2 separate regions of the Homo sapiens genome follow, and region 2 is linked to region 1. The links are contacts of gene promoters, found by promoter capture Hi-C in blood cells and fetal thymus (Javierre and others, 2016). All regions are on one chromosome and are shown on one strand. Each heading gives the region's core, a stretch centred on a gene start or on the middle of the fragment in contact. The rest is flanking DNA. Distances are from core to core; before and after follow the strand shown. Region 1 holds the start of HRNR (hornerin). Region 2 holds the start of LCE5A (late cornified envelope 5A).

Region 1 (6,947 bases), core at 4,127-6,626:
AAAGAAGCTGTGAAAATCAACCTATAAAGTGTTGAAGAGTAAGTGAAAGTTACGGGAGTCAGAGACAAGGAGTGCTGACTGCTCTTTTAAGGAGTTCAGTTATTAAGAGATGGAAATGGATGATAGAAATAAATTAGATGATAATTCATCATTATTTCCCCTCATCTCATACCTTCTCTTTCTCATTTATTGCTTTGCTTTTTATTTATTTATTTACTTTGAGATGGGGTCTTGCTCTATTGCCCAGGCCGGAGTGCAGTGGCAAAATCTCAGCTCACTGCAGCCTCCACCTCCCAGGTTCAAGCAATTCTCCCACCTCAGCCGCCTGAGTAGCTGGGATTACAGGAGCATGCCACCACGCCCTGCTAACCTGGCCAACATGGTGAAACCCCATCTCTACTAAAAATGCAAAAAATGTATTGCTGTTCTTCGTGAATGTTACCACCATACATACTGCCATCCAAGTCAGAAGCCTTGATTACTTCCGTTCCTTCATCTGTCTTCTGACTCATCTTCCTTATTCTATCTTACCTCTCAGTCTAGTATCAACATAGCAGTGAGTCAGATCATGCCACTCCTCTGCTCAAAACCTTACCTAGTAAATAAGCCAACCATATGGTATGTTAGAAGTATATATCAAATAGAAGGGTCAGGGTAGGCTTTATTGAGAAGGTGGTATTTGAGCAGAGACTTGAAGGAGATAAGTGATATAGCCAAATGGACATTTAGGGGAAGAGCATTTCTGGCAAAAATTCTTTTAAAAAGAAGGATGCCTGGAGGTTTTGGAGAATAGCAAGGAAGCTAATATGGCTTCAGCAGGGTACCACAAGGGAGAGAGTGGTGAAAGATGAGGCCAGAAAGGAAACAGAGGTCTGATCAGTTTGCTACTCATTACATTCATACTACAATGCCTCACTCTCCCTTCTCTATCTGCTATCCCACCACTATCCCCTGCCACACACACATGCACGCACGCACGCACGCATGCACATCGAAAGGCAAATGTTCTGGATTTGATTTCCAACAATCAAGGTCCTTATATCTCAGCTTTTTTTTTTTTTTTTTTGGTACCATTTCTAACACTTGAAGTGTTTGTGAGAATCGCTTCCAGTCACTCTTCTCCATTTGTCCACTTTAATGGACCAGGTCTGCATGCTGAATGTTTCAGGTAGTAGGAACTAAGGGATAGAGACTATGAATACCAAGCCAGTAAGAGCATCAAACATCAAGATAAGAACACACAGCCTAAGTAACACAGTGAGACCTCATCTCTACAAAAAAATATAAAAATTAGACAGATGCAGTGGCATACACCTATAATCTCAGCTACTCGGGAAGCTAAAGTGGGAGGATCACTTGGGCCCTGGAGTTGGAAGCTGCAGTGAGCCATGGTTGCACCACTGCACTTTAGCCTGGGCAACAGTGAGACCCAAAAAAAAAAACTATATATATATTTTTTTCTCATATATATATATATATATATATATATATATATATATATATTAGAGAAAGATACTGATGGAATAAATAAAAGGATACATGTATGAATGAGCTCTGGATTCCCAGCATTTGAAGCATTTTGGAGTTCTCGGAAGAGAAAATGGAGGATATTAAGGGAGAAAGAAACAACTCAATAGGCAGACCAGTACTGAAGCAGAATATATTCCAGGGTGTGGGTCTGAAGCTGAAAGATATGTCACCATGCCTGTCTCATCCCCAGGGAATATATACTAAGCTGTAAAATTATATCGAATCCATTTTTTATTTTTTGAGATAACAGTAAAAAGGACTCAAAAGAGGATATAGAAGGAAGCACTATTTAACCAGTTTCATATTATAGCTAACTTCTTTTGATTCCATTTACCCAAAATCATGACCATCAACCTTCTCTTATATACATACCCCTATTTTTTACATAGTCTCCTCATTTATAGAGACTAGGCTACAAAGAACTATAGAAATTCCATGAAATAATTTCTGTAAGGAAAAAGGGCAGAAAAGGCAATGAAGAAAAGATCTGCTTTAGAATTTCCCTATGACCCAGCAGATGGTGCAATAGGCACATTACTCTGCCTTCCAGACAGGCAGAAAAAAATGAGTGCACACAGATGGTACTGGAACTTCACTGTTTATCCTTGCTAGTTTTGTTTGTTTGTTTTTCCTAGGTGAAACACTCCATTCCTGAAGAACTGTTTCCAAAACCCTTCCTTTACCAAGACATGAATATTTCCCTACTTGCTGACTATTCCTAGGAAAAAGCAGATTTGAATTTGAATTCTGTCTTCTCCACTTAACAGCTAAGTGACTTGAAACAAGTTACAGATTTCATCTGAGCCTCAGTTTTCTCATCTGCAAAATGGAAATATAATATCTAGATAACAGGGTTGTTGTAAGAATTAATGAAACAATGTACACCCACACACAAAGCACTGTGCTTGTCATAAAAAGGAATGTAATTTTCATTCTTCTGCCAACACACAGAGAAAGGCACTCAAAAACCTAGAACATGGCACATACCATAGAAAAGCTTTTCTCCTGAAACCTATCATCTCCAAGTGGAAAAACCACTAACCAAACCCATGATGGAGGAATCTTCATGTCCAACTCTGTTACTATGGAGCACACACTCTAAAAAAAACAAGAAACTGTTTTGAAAGTGACTTTTGTGATAATCTAGTCCTACTCTTAATAAGTAATTCTCAATGGGGAGAGAAGAGACCAAGACGCATATGTAATATGCTTCTTATTTTCATGATACAAACGAGGAAAAAAAGCCCAACAAAATTCTAGTTGGTGAGCATATCCAGAAAACAACGTAATGAAAGAATTAATTTTTTCTTTAATAGTAAAAAACTATTCATATGATACTTGACAATAAATTCAGTTACTTCACAAAGAGCTCACTGCATTTTCAGTCAATGCAAATATTAAATATTTCTCCCTTACATCAAATCAAAATTTATCTCCCTTTTACGAGCAGCCAAAGGTCCCTTGTTCTGTTCCCTTTCCCCACCACCCCACACATGCTGATATTTACAAATTCACCTTCACTCTTGTTCTCTCATGCAAGAGTTAGTGGTTCTGATGTCCCACACTTTTCAGCCCTTCTTTTCTCTCAGATCCTCCTCTCCCAGAGAATCTTCCTGAAAAGCAAATACAGAAGAGGAGCAAAGAGTGGTAAACTACAGCCTGCAGTTCATAGCTAGCTTGTCATCCATTTTTGTGTAGCCTACAGGATAAAAAGGTTTTCTACATTTGTAAGCGGTTGAAAAAATATATGATATGTGAAATTATATGACATTCAAAGATCAGTATTGATAAATAAGTTTTACTGAAACATAGCCATGCTCATTTGTTTACATATCATCTATGGCTGCTTTTATGCTACAATAGCAGAGTTGAGTAGTTGCAACAAAAACTATCTGTCCTGCAGAGATAATATTTTGTACCATCTGGCCCTTTACAAAAAAAAAAGTTTGCTGGCCCCTATTTCAGGAGAACACTAGCCCCAAGAGCACGTTCACCTGGAATAGTCTTCTCTCACAACCCTCTCCTCCCTTCGTGACAACAGCTGGTTCCTGCAGGAAATCAGTCTTCACTCAGCAAATTCCACCCCCCTTTACTCCCACAGTCTCAGCCACACCTTTAAAAAGTCATTGTTCTGATGAAGCATGAAAACCTGGCCCAATCAGATGTCCAGAGGAAACACGGCTACAGAATGGATACTGACTCTGCAGCCCTCTGGGCAATTCTTAAAAGAAAACACATAGCCTAACAATAGTTGAATTTGGAATCATGTAATTTATCACTTGCCAACAGTTGCTACCACACCTTCTCAAATCCTGATGACCATATTGCACAAGTTTTAAGTCCATGTAACTTCACACACCTTCAGTGAAATTTGTGTTATATGTTCACAATGGAAGAAATGCAGAGCGAGGGCCTCAGAAAAAAGCAGAAAGCCACTCATTGATTCTCAATGCTAAGATTCCGTTTATATTCAGGTAAAATCATGTCCTCTGAGGCAAAGATGGCAAGAGAGAGGGCAGACCCTAGTCCTCCTGTGAAAAGATGGAAGTTGGCCAATGCAGAGGACTATAGTCTTGATCCTTGCTTCTCTTTCAAATGAATTCAAACTGACATTTATTGGAGACCGTTATGTGACAAGCAGTATACTAGGTCTCCAAATGACATAAGGATAAATAATGTCCATTCCTTATTCTCAAGGAGCTCATAGCCTAGAAATGAAATAAGCCCATAGACAAATGTGTGTGTCTGTGTGTGAATGTGTGTGTTTGTGAAAGGCAAGGATATACAACAAATAACTAACAGTAGTTATTTTTGGCTAGTGGCTTTAAAGGTATTTTGATTTTATCTTATTTGCTTATCAATATTTTCTAATTTTTATATTAAACAATAATTGTATAGTAAAACAATTTTTAAAGATTACAATATAGTATGATTGATACAACAATAAATATGAATAAGGTACACAATTACAACTCCCTCTTGAGTAATTCAGGAAAGATTTTCTATGGGAAGCCTAAATTGGATTTTGAAGAATAATTAGTTCACTAGGCAGACAATGAGGAAAGACATTCTAAGAAAAAATATGAAATAACATATCCCATGGTATATTGAGGAAGTTTGAAATATTACTAGTTAATTACTGTTGGAGTACAAAGAGAAATATGGAGGGGAGAAATGGAGCTGGAAAAAAGCCACAGCCCAGATCATGAGGAACCATGGATACCATGCTAACAAGCACGCATTTCTTCCTAAGGTTATATGGTGTTTGAAATGAAAGCTATGGTGATGAATGGCCAATAAGGGGTCTGGTAAATTGAGGTACTTAATGAGTTAAAGGATGGCCTGGAGCCATTATCCAATTCAAAAGGTAATAACAATACCAAAGATGACACTTTGGCTGGAATACCATTTAAGAACATTTAGCTTAGAATGGGAGAGTTTGACTAGATGATCTTTACAGTCCTTTTAATCATCAATTTCCATGATTTTTTGACATTTGGGCCATGATGTCCCTGCACACACTCCATTCAACTTCTATTAAAATCCACACAATTTGTTGTCAATATATTGTGCTAGATAGTTTGATGAATACAAAAACAGGCCTTTCTGCAGTGTCCTGACCCTTTGGCAGGTGGGGCTGAGAGTAGCCCAGATTTGGGAACTGCTAATGCAATCTTAGGTGAACCTGTAAGGAAGTCAGGAAGAAGGTAAACACCTGGGAGGTGGAGATAGAGGTGGAGATGGGCTTGTTTAGGAGTAAATTAGGACATCTCAAAATTAGCAACTCCTCCCTAAGAGGGACCATTATTCCCTCTATAAAAAGGCCACTCTGCCCAACTCGCAGCACCCTGAAAGCTGTTTCTGTCTCTACCCTACTTGTTCCTCTGGTGAGCTAGGTAAGTGAGCAGTTCAACTCCGCTCAAGGGTACTTAGGGCTATAAATTATGAAAGTCCAGGATGTGCTCTAAGGCAAAGAGGCACTAGATACAAGGCTTCTTTTTAGTATACTCTGGGGAACTTTGGTATAAGTTTAAATTTACTGAAAAGAAAAATGAAACAAAGACTAGGACTATGTATATTATCTCCTTTCTTTGAGGTCGCTTCCCTTATAACATGGATATCATGGGGTTCTAATTATCCACAGGCAGGTTGCCTTCTTTACAACTGAGCTTTTCCTCTCTATTGTGTAATAAGGTCTGAGGGTCACTTCCTGCTTGGAGAATGAGAACAGAAGCTGGATCTAATAGCAGTTACCCTTAGCTTCATATCACCTAGGCTTGTTGGCTTTGCTCACATTGTCTATTTTCTCTGACCTAGAAGTCTTGAGAGTTCAGTTCAGCCATTGATGCTCCTTAGGTTGAGTAAGGCATGTCATGTAGATGATGGACCTATGCCCACAGTATGCTTCGAACCTAGAAAGAGGAAGCAGATGAAGTGGAACACTCAGGACTTCTACAGCTCCAGAACAAAGCTAATATTATCCCTGGTAATGGCAGGAAGCCAAAAACAGAAAGTCATTTTTCCTACATTCATTCAGGAATGGAAATAAGACCTATGGATTATATTCCTAATTTCATCACTCTCTTGCTACATGGCTTGAACAAGTCATTCAACTCTGAATTGGTTCTTGATTACAACAGAATGAATTTAATCATGACTGACTAATTCTGAACAATTATTATAAATAATTAGAACTATTTATGTGTTTAAACAAGAAATAAGAATAGTAAGGGGTTGGTCTCTCTTTTTCCTCCCTTTAGGTTACTCAAACTTGCAAAAAAAAAAATGCCTAAACTCCTACAAGGCGTCATCACTGTCATCGATGTTTTCTACCAATATGCCACCCAGCATGGGGAGTATGATACGTTGAACAAGGCAGAGCTGAAAGAACTTCTGGAAAATGAGTTTCATCAAATTCTGAAGGTAAGAACTCCACGCCAGGATGGAGTTATGCAGGAATTTTCTTCTTTATCCCTTTCCACCTTCTTGTCACATATGTCAAACATCCTAGAGGATTGTCCTTACTTGGTGAGAGAGAACAGGGTTTGGTAAAAGTTTGAGATAAGGTCAAAAGCAGATCCGTGATGGTTTCCATAGCATAACTAACGGAAGTGACCTTACTAAACAACAAACAAAACCCACAGGTTAAATAATGTCCTATCTAAGTGACTAATTCCTACAAACCCAGACAGTCCTCAGAAAAACTGTGAAGTAGATTTCTGAGTTCAGGAAATTGGCATTTACTCCTGAATCACAAAAGAATGTGTCCACCACCTTAAAACTGTCAGGTCTAGATTTGATAGCTTAGATATTTGGGACCTTATATCAGACTCCTGAGTTTCAATTCCTTAAATTTGGATTTCTGTGGATTTCAGATATGATATTCAGATATCAGATGTCAGATATTCAGTGTGTCA
Region 2 (6,671 bases), core at 2,130-4,629, 290 kb before region 1:
GCGCTGGGACCTCTGGCTGCCGCCCCCGCAGCAGCAGCAACCACTACTCCGCTGTCGGCGGCGTCTCCTTGGGAAGCAGCAGCAACTGGTGGAGCTGGAGCCGCAGCAGCCTGAGTCGCCGCAGCAGCCCCTGCCGGAGCCGCAGCAGGAGGAGGAGGAGGCGGGCGCCGGGGTGGGCGCCGGGGCGGGACACGGAGCGGGGCCCTGGGACGACCCCTTGGAAAAGCCTTTGGCGGAAACGGCGCTCTGTTGAGAGGACATCGCGGAGCTCCTCACGACAAACCTGGAAGAAAGGCAGCCTTTCAAAGGCGAGCCGGCTTTTTCTTTCCACCAATGGAACTCTGTCTGGGCTTTTGAGATTCGGCTTAGTGTACAAGTCAGCCTGGCCTGGGACAAGGAGGGAAAAGCACCCAGAAAGAGCGGACGCAAAGAAGCAAATCCAAGCAGGTGTTTCCAGTGAGTTAAACATGCTCAGAGCAGGACACAATCCATGCAATGAATCAATGCATTTCCATTTTCTCTGACTAGAAGAAGACTGCTCAAGTTCTCCACAGTGGAAAATAAACAGCACACTGCGGCAACTTATCTGTATGATCCAGTCCAAAATCTCCACTTGGCTTTTTTCTTGTCCCTCATTTTACTTTCCTACCGACCTTCGACTGTATCTTCCTAGTTACTACACCCCCATCAGTTAGAAAACACCCAAGTCCAACAGGCGGTCCCACCTGCTGGGTCTAAATAATCCACAGGCCAGAAGCATGTCCTGATCATTCTTTCTTGCCTACGCCTCTCATGCCCCACAACCATGTGGGAAAGGAGAGTTGTGCCAATATAAATAACCCCATCCAGGGAGCTGAAAGACCTGGGTTCTAGTCACAGCTCTTCTGCGGACTTGCTGTGTACCCTTGCAAAAACCACCTCCTATGTTGCCTTTATGTCCTCATTAGTACCTTAAGAGGTTGGCTCACTAGAAGCGTAGGTGCCTTGCGGGACACCCCTTCCACATCTATCTGCTGCCTGTGTTCTGTTTGCTCCTCCCCTGTGCCCTCAACTCATCCCACCCTCTCCCCCAGACCCTGCTAGGAGACTTACCAGACCCTGGCTCCACTGAAAGACTCACTACGTTCTCCAACTGGAATGGGCCACCTGCTAGGCAGTGGATTGAGCAGCGTCCAGCCAGAGAACCTTTTTATAAGAAGTATTCAGGTTCAGGCTCTTGGGAGGGGCCCATTTCCCAACAGACGTGCTCAGCTGACACTCACATCCCAGAGACATTCATCACTCAGGTAGCATTGTAGGTGGTGCATGTGGGCATCTAAGTCACTTCACAGAGGTGCCAGGATTGCTATGGCATGTTTACTTTCCAAACAGGGCACTGTTTGTACCTGGGAGGCTGTGTGTATGCTAAGAGAGGGCATGGGGCTCAAATGCAGGGAGGTCTGGAACCCCTGCCCTTGTCTTCAATACACACACACACACACACACACACACACACACACACACACACAGACGGCTCCACTTGCCCACACATCCATTCCTATGTAGTCATCTACTTGGTAGGTGGTAGTTCACCTATTTTTATCTTGATTCTCATCTCTCTGGCTCTTGGTCCTTGGCTCCCCAGGGCAGACCACAAGCTATGCGATAAGCCTGCTGGGTTTCATCCATATGCTTCAAGATGCAGTGAGTGAAGATGATGACGGGGATGCACCTTTGGGAACCCCAGGGGTGATTTCTCTCTGTCACTGGAGACAGGAAGAAAAACCTAGGCAAAGTTAAGGAACCATAAGACCAGAAAAGTTGTGAATGTAGTCAGGTTGCCATATCCCCATAATACAGCATGGTATGACAAAGAGAAAAATGTGTGCAGGACAGTGGCCCAATTGCAAAAAGGCTAGTCAGCCTGTGGGACTCCTGCTTCTTATCCCACCCCCAACCACCAATCTGCCTTTGAAGATAAGTTCTCCCTAGGGCCACTGCCCAGTGCAAAAGAAAATGGGAAAGGAAGAAGGGAGGGAGGGAAAGAAGAAAAAAAAGAGAAAGAAAGAAAGAAAGTTCTTTCCAAAGGTCCAAAGTGTTCATGATAGATAGTGTTTTCAGAATAACTAATTTTTAAGAATTGGAGGATACTTTGGCAGTCAACTTCAGAACTGCTTCTTAATCAAATTGCCCACAACTGTGAATGTGAACTATAACAGAAGTCCAAGACTAAGAATTCAGGAATTAAGGATGAGAGACAGGTTTGGGGGCGAGTGAGCTGGGAGTGGCTCAAGGGACTAGGCGAGGAAAGATAAGTCACAAAAGATACCAGTTTCATTTAACATGGATTTAGAGCCTGATTAACAGGTTGCCAGTTCCTAGAGCACCTGTTGGTGAGTATAGGTGAGACATTCCAAAAAGTAAAGTCAATATTAGAACAGAGAAGGAAGTAATGAAATAACAAGACAGAGGCAGGATCTCCTCTGGGAAAATGGGCAAAGTTCTTTTAAAAAAAAAAAAAAAGAATGAAGAACGTTTGGTAGGAATCAGTATAAGGAGATAATCTGGGCAAGTGCCTACTCATTCTGTGGGCATCCTATGATCTCATAAACCAGCTTACTTTATTTATCGCTATTAACTCTTATCAAAGGAGGCATCAATTGTTTATCTTTTATATTAAAGGCTGATTTGGAATTAACTTTTCTAGTTATCTTTTCTAGGTACATTATGAGTGTCTCCTGAAGGAACCAGCCCATTCCTAAAGAAATGTTGCTTGGAAAACCCAACACAGGGACCAAAACCCCTGTACTCTTATACCTCTCACTGCACACACACACACACACACACACACACACACACACACGTACGTCCCAACCACATAGAGACAGTCTTTGCAAAGAAGGGTGTCTTTCTCAGTTCTTTACCCAGATTCAAATCCAGGATTTCAGCATGCAGGGAAAATGTGCTCAGACGTTTCATATCTGCCTCCAAAACTCACTCACTGCCCACCCAGCTCTCCCTCTAGCCAACTGATGGAAACACCTGAGCTTATAATAATCAGAAAAGTAAAGAGTGTCCATTTATTAGAGCCCAGGATGAGCACTTCAGGCAATCTTATTCCCCATGAATGGGGACAAGCAATTTTTCAAACTGTGACCCATGCTTGAAGGAAACCCTCTCAGAACCTGAACCTTTTGAGTACAACCATCCTCTTCTCTTCAAACCCATTCCTGGCTCTCCTCATACAATCTTGTGTCTGGCGTAATGGTCTCAGACATTATTCTTTCCTTCAAGCTTAAAGTTCCAGAATCCAGTGCATAGAAGGAAATATTGTTTTCCAGAGGCCTAAGTAGCTTCACTGCCAAAATGTGCTTCCTAAACAAGTTTGTAAAGTGTTCGCTTGCATTTAAGAGAAGGGAAGGGAAGATGGCTTGATGCAGCAGGTAGGGAGTGGGAGAGGCAAACAATGAAATCAGGAGGCAGTGATATCAGGAATAAAAAGCTTTATTGTTACAGAGAAAATAGCTTCATAACTGAATTACAACACCTAGTTCTCCAAAGAGCTATGTCTGAGAGGGAAAGCCAGGCCAGAAAATATCACAAGCTAGACTTCAACCCTACAATGGAGTGAACATGGGCAGGATAAAGAGGGGAACTTAAGGCATTTCCGAAGTCCTTCCATGGGAAATGAGAGAAAAGAAGCCTCAGGCTGACACACATCTTCAGCACCTGGGATCTGCCAGTCCTTCTCCTCCGTGCTCCTCATGGCCCAGGTCAGCAGCAGCCTCCAGAGCTGTGGCAGCAGCCAGAGCCCCCAGAGCTGTGGCAGCAGCTGGAGCCCCCAGACTGCTGGCCACTGCCACTGCCACAGCAGCTGGAACTCTGAGGTCGGCGTCGGAGGGACTGGCGGGGCCTGTGGTGGCTCAGGCAGCAGCCACCACCCTCAGAGCTGCAGCAGCCCCCAGAGCTGGAACCACAGCAGGAAGAGACTGGAGGTGGGCATGGGGCTGAACACTGGGGAGGGCATTTTGGGGGACACTTGGGAGGACACTTAGGAGTACACTTGGGAGGGCATTTAGGGGTACATTTGGGAGGAGGCTGGCACTGCTGCTGGCTCTGCTGGCAGGACATCTCTGTAGAAGCTGAATAAAGCTGAAAGACAATACAAGCCCAAGGTCACTTCCTTGCCCTTAAAATTGAACTATAATTTCACAAGATTTTATCTCTAAGATGACCAGAATTTATTATTATGATTATTATTATTATTTGGGATGGAGTCTCACTCTGTCACTCAGGCTGGAGTGCAGTGGTGCTATCTCGGCTCACTGCAACCTCCACCTCCCGGATTCAAGTGATTCTCCTGCCTCAGACAGGTGTGCACCACCACACCCAGCTAATTTTTGTGTTTTTAGTAGAGACGGGATTTCAGCATGTTGGTCAGTCTCGAACTCCTGACCTCTTGACCCGCCCACCTCAGCCTCCCAAAGTGCTGGGATTACAGGCATGAGCCACTACTCCTGGCCTAAGATGAACCAGATTTTAAAAACCCAGTCTCCCAAGACCAGTAACAAGAATGATACAAATGATTTCCACCTAGTAACTCCATATTTTCAAATGAATAACTTGGAACTTCAGAAAGGCATCAGTCCTTCATTCCTTTTACCTACCTTCCACCCTCCCCTTCCAGAAGAACCTTCCCCTCCAAAATCCTTCTTTATCCTTGTCTTTCTTCAAGAATGGCCTCAACCTCCACCCAGGGGCTCTTTCTGCCCAAAACACCAGCACCAAGAGTTCATCCTGGTCCTGAGAAGCACTCTACCTGGTTCAGGCACTGCAGCAGATCACTCAGGAGACAGGTAGACTGAGGTGCTGTCAGAAGCTTCTGCCTTTTATACAATTCAGTCCTGACCTAGCATCAGGAGGTGCAGACCATGTGCGGGACGCTAGAAGCATCTTTCATAAAGGCATGGGTGACTCCCTCCCCTCGCATCCCAGGGACCCAGTTCCTCCCTGCATAAGCATCTCAAGTATTAACCCACAGGAAGATCCCCTGAGAACTGCAGGCCTCTAGGATGGTGAGGGAGCTCTGTGAATTGCACATGGCACCTATCTATCTCACAGGCAGCTCTGCTATGCCTTCTATTTTCTGAGCTGGGCCAATACGGCTCTACACCTCTGGAATGAACAGAAGTTCTGTTTTCTCTTTGGTATAGGAACTGAAGGAGAAAATTCCCAAGATGGAAATTAAATGGCCCTTTTTAGAATAATAATAGAGATCCAAAATAAAATTGTAGGCCCAAGCAAATAATCTAACATGATTTTTTTTTCATTTCTAGATGATGCCATAACCAGAACAAGGAAGGTTTGATATCTCAGTGATGTTATTTTAGGCAGATCTAATGCTGACAGTGTGGGTGGTTGGGCTTCTCTCCTTGCCTGAATTTGATGCTCCAAAACTGCTCACAAACAGTACCGATTCAGCACTAACAATGCCTTTAAAAGGGCAGAAGTCTAGGAATGGCTTATTTACTCGTGTTAAAGAAGGTGCCCTTGGCCAGCTCGAGGTGAGGCAGCAAAGACCAGGTGTATACTGAGGGTGGAGCAAAAGCTCTCCACTCATCTGGAGGTTTCCAGAAGTGAGGCACCAGTTCTGGTCATTCATAAGAGAAGAGCATCCAACCTGGGAAGGACCTCAGGAGAAGATTAATCTTTGGATGGAGAGGTGAAGAGGAGGAGTATATAGGTTTTAAAAGCCCATGGTGGGATCCAAAACATTTTCTCAGCAAACAATATTCTGAGGGAAAGTTGGGTCCCCAGGATAGTTATCAAAATTGACTTAGCTGGAAAGGGTGGCCAAAATATGGCATATTCACAATGAAAGCTGCAGTGAGAGAAAATAAGACTGGGAGAAAAAGGCAGTACCTTAGCTCCATGCTCTTTGAAATGGGCTGCAGTGAGAAGCATCAGCCCAGTTATAACACAGACCCTGGAGAGGGACATCCAGCATCAGTTCCCACCCTTGCTCTCTCCACCTGTGCAACCTCTGGCAAGTTACTTAACCATCACTGGAAAAGGGGGCTGAAAACATTCCTAATCCACTGAATAAAGAAATACAGATGAAGTTCTTAGCACAGTTCCTAGAACTGCAAGTTTAAAAAAGAAAAAACTAATCACTATGGCTATCCTTATTTCCATGAGAAAATATATGCTAAATTTCAAATTACTGACCTGCCAATTTTGAAACCAAAACTAATTTTTATGATATCAGAACTTAGACTCGATGTTTTCTTACAGCAAAATATTAAGAGTATTTGCTTGTCACTAGGGAATGAGATTATAAAGAAAGCATACTCATTATTTAAAAACACCAAAAAATAGGAAGAATTTTAAAATCACCTATAATCCCATCCCTAAAATATGGTTACTATTTTGCTATTTTCCTTCCCGTCATTTTTTTCTATATATAGTGGTTTTGTTGTTGTTGTTGTTATTTGAGTTTTGTTTGTATTTTACATAGTCTTTCTCATAGTACTTACATGAGTTTACTTTACTAACTTTTCACTTAACATTTTAACATCAACATTTCCCATGTTATTCGTTGTTTGGAAGCATTATTTTTGGTAGCCATAAGAACATTTCATGAAGGGCACAGAATCTATTTATAAGTGGTTGGGAGCGTGAGTTCTTTTTTT

What was found. Contacts are between HindIII fragments. The CHiCAGO score rates a contact against its expected background, and 5 or more counts as called.
Region 2: a contact is called between a fragment that was not itself captured here and the fragment with the promoter of HRNR in region 1, in 2 of 17 cell types (total CD8 T cells and naive CD4 T cells). The highest score is 6.2, in total CD8 T cells.

Annotation. Positions count from the first base shown.
Region 1 is chr1:152,222,622-152,229,568 of GRCh38, reverse strand. It overlaps HRNR (hornerin), which reads left to right and starts at 5,376. Exons shown (of 3, transcript NM_001009931.3): 1 at 5,376-5,426; 2 at 6,291-6,453. The coding sequence starts at 6,316. All of the region lies in intron 1 of CCDST (cervical cancer associated DHX9 suppressive transcript), which reads right to left. The HindIII fragment of the contact is 14,241 bases long and covers 2,530-6,947 here.
Region 2 is chr1:152,508,974-152,515,644 of GRCh38, reverse strand. LCE5A (late cornified envelope 5A) reads right to left here and starts at 4,842. Exons shown (of 2, transcript NM_178438.5): 1 at 4,647-4,842; 2 at 3,468-4,131. The coding sequence starts at 4,110. The coding sequence ends at 3,754. It overlaps CRCT1 (cysteine rich C-terminal 1), which reads right to left and starts at 1,163. Exons shown (of 2, transcript NM_019060.3): 1 at 1,093-1,163; 2 at 1-283. The coding sequence starts at 261. The HindIII fragment of the contact is 208 bases long and covers 3,276-3,483 here.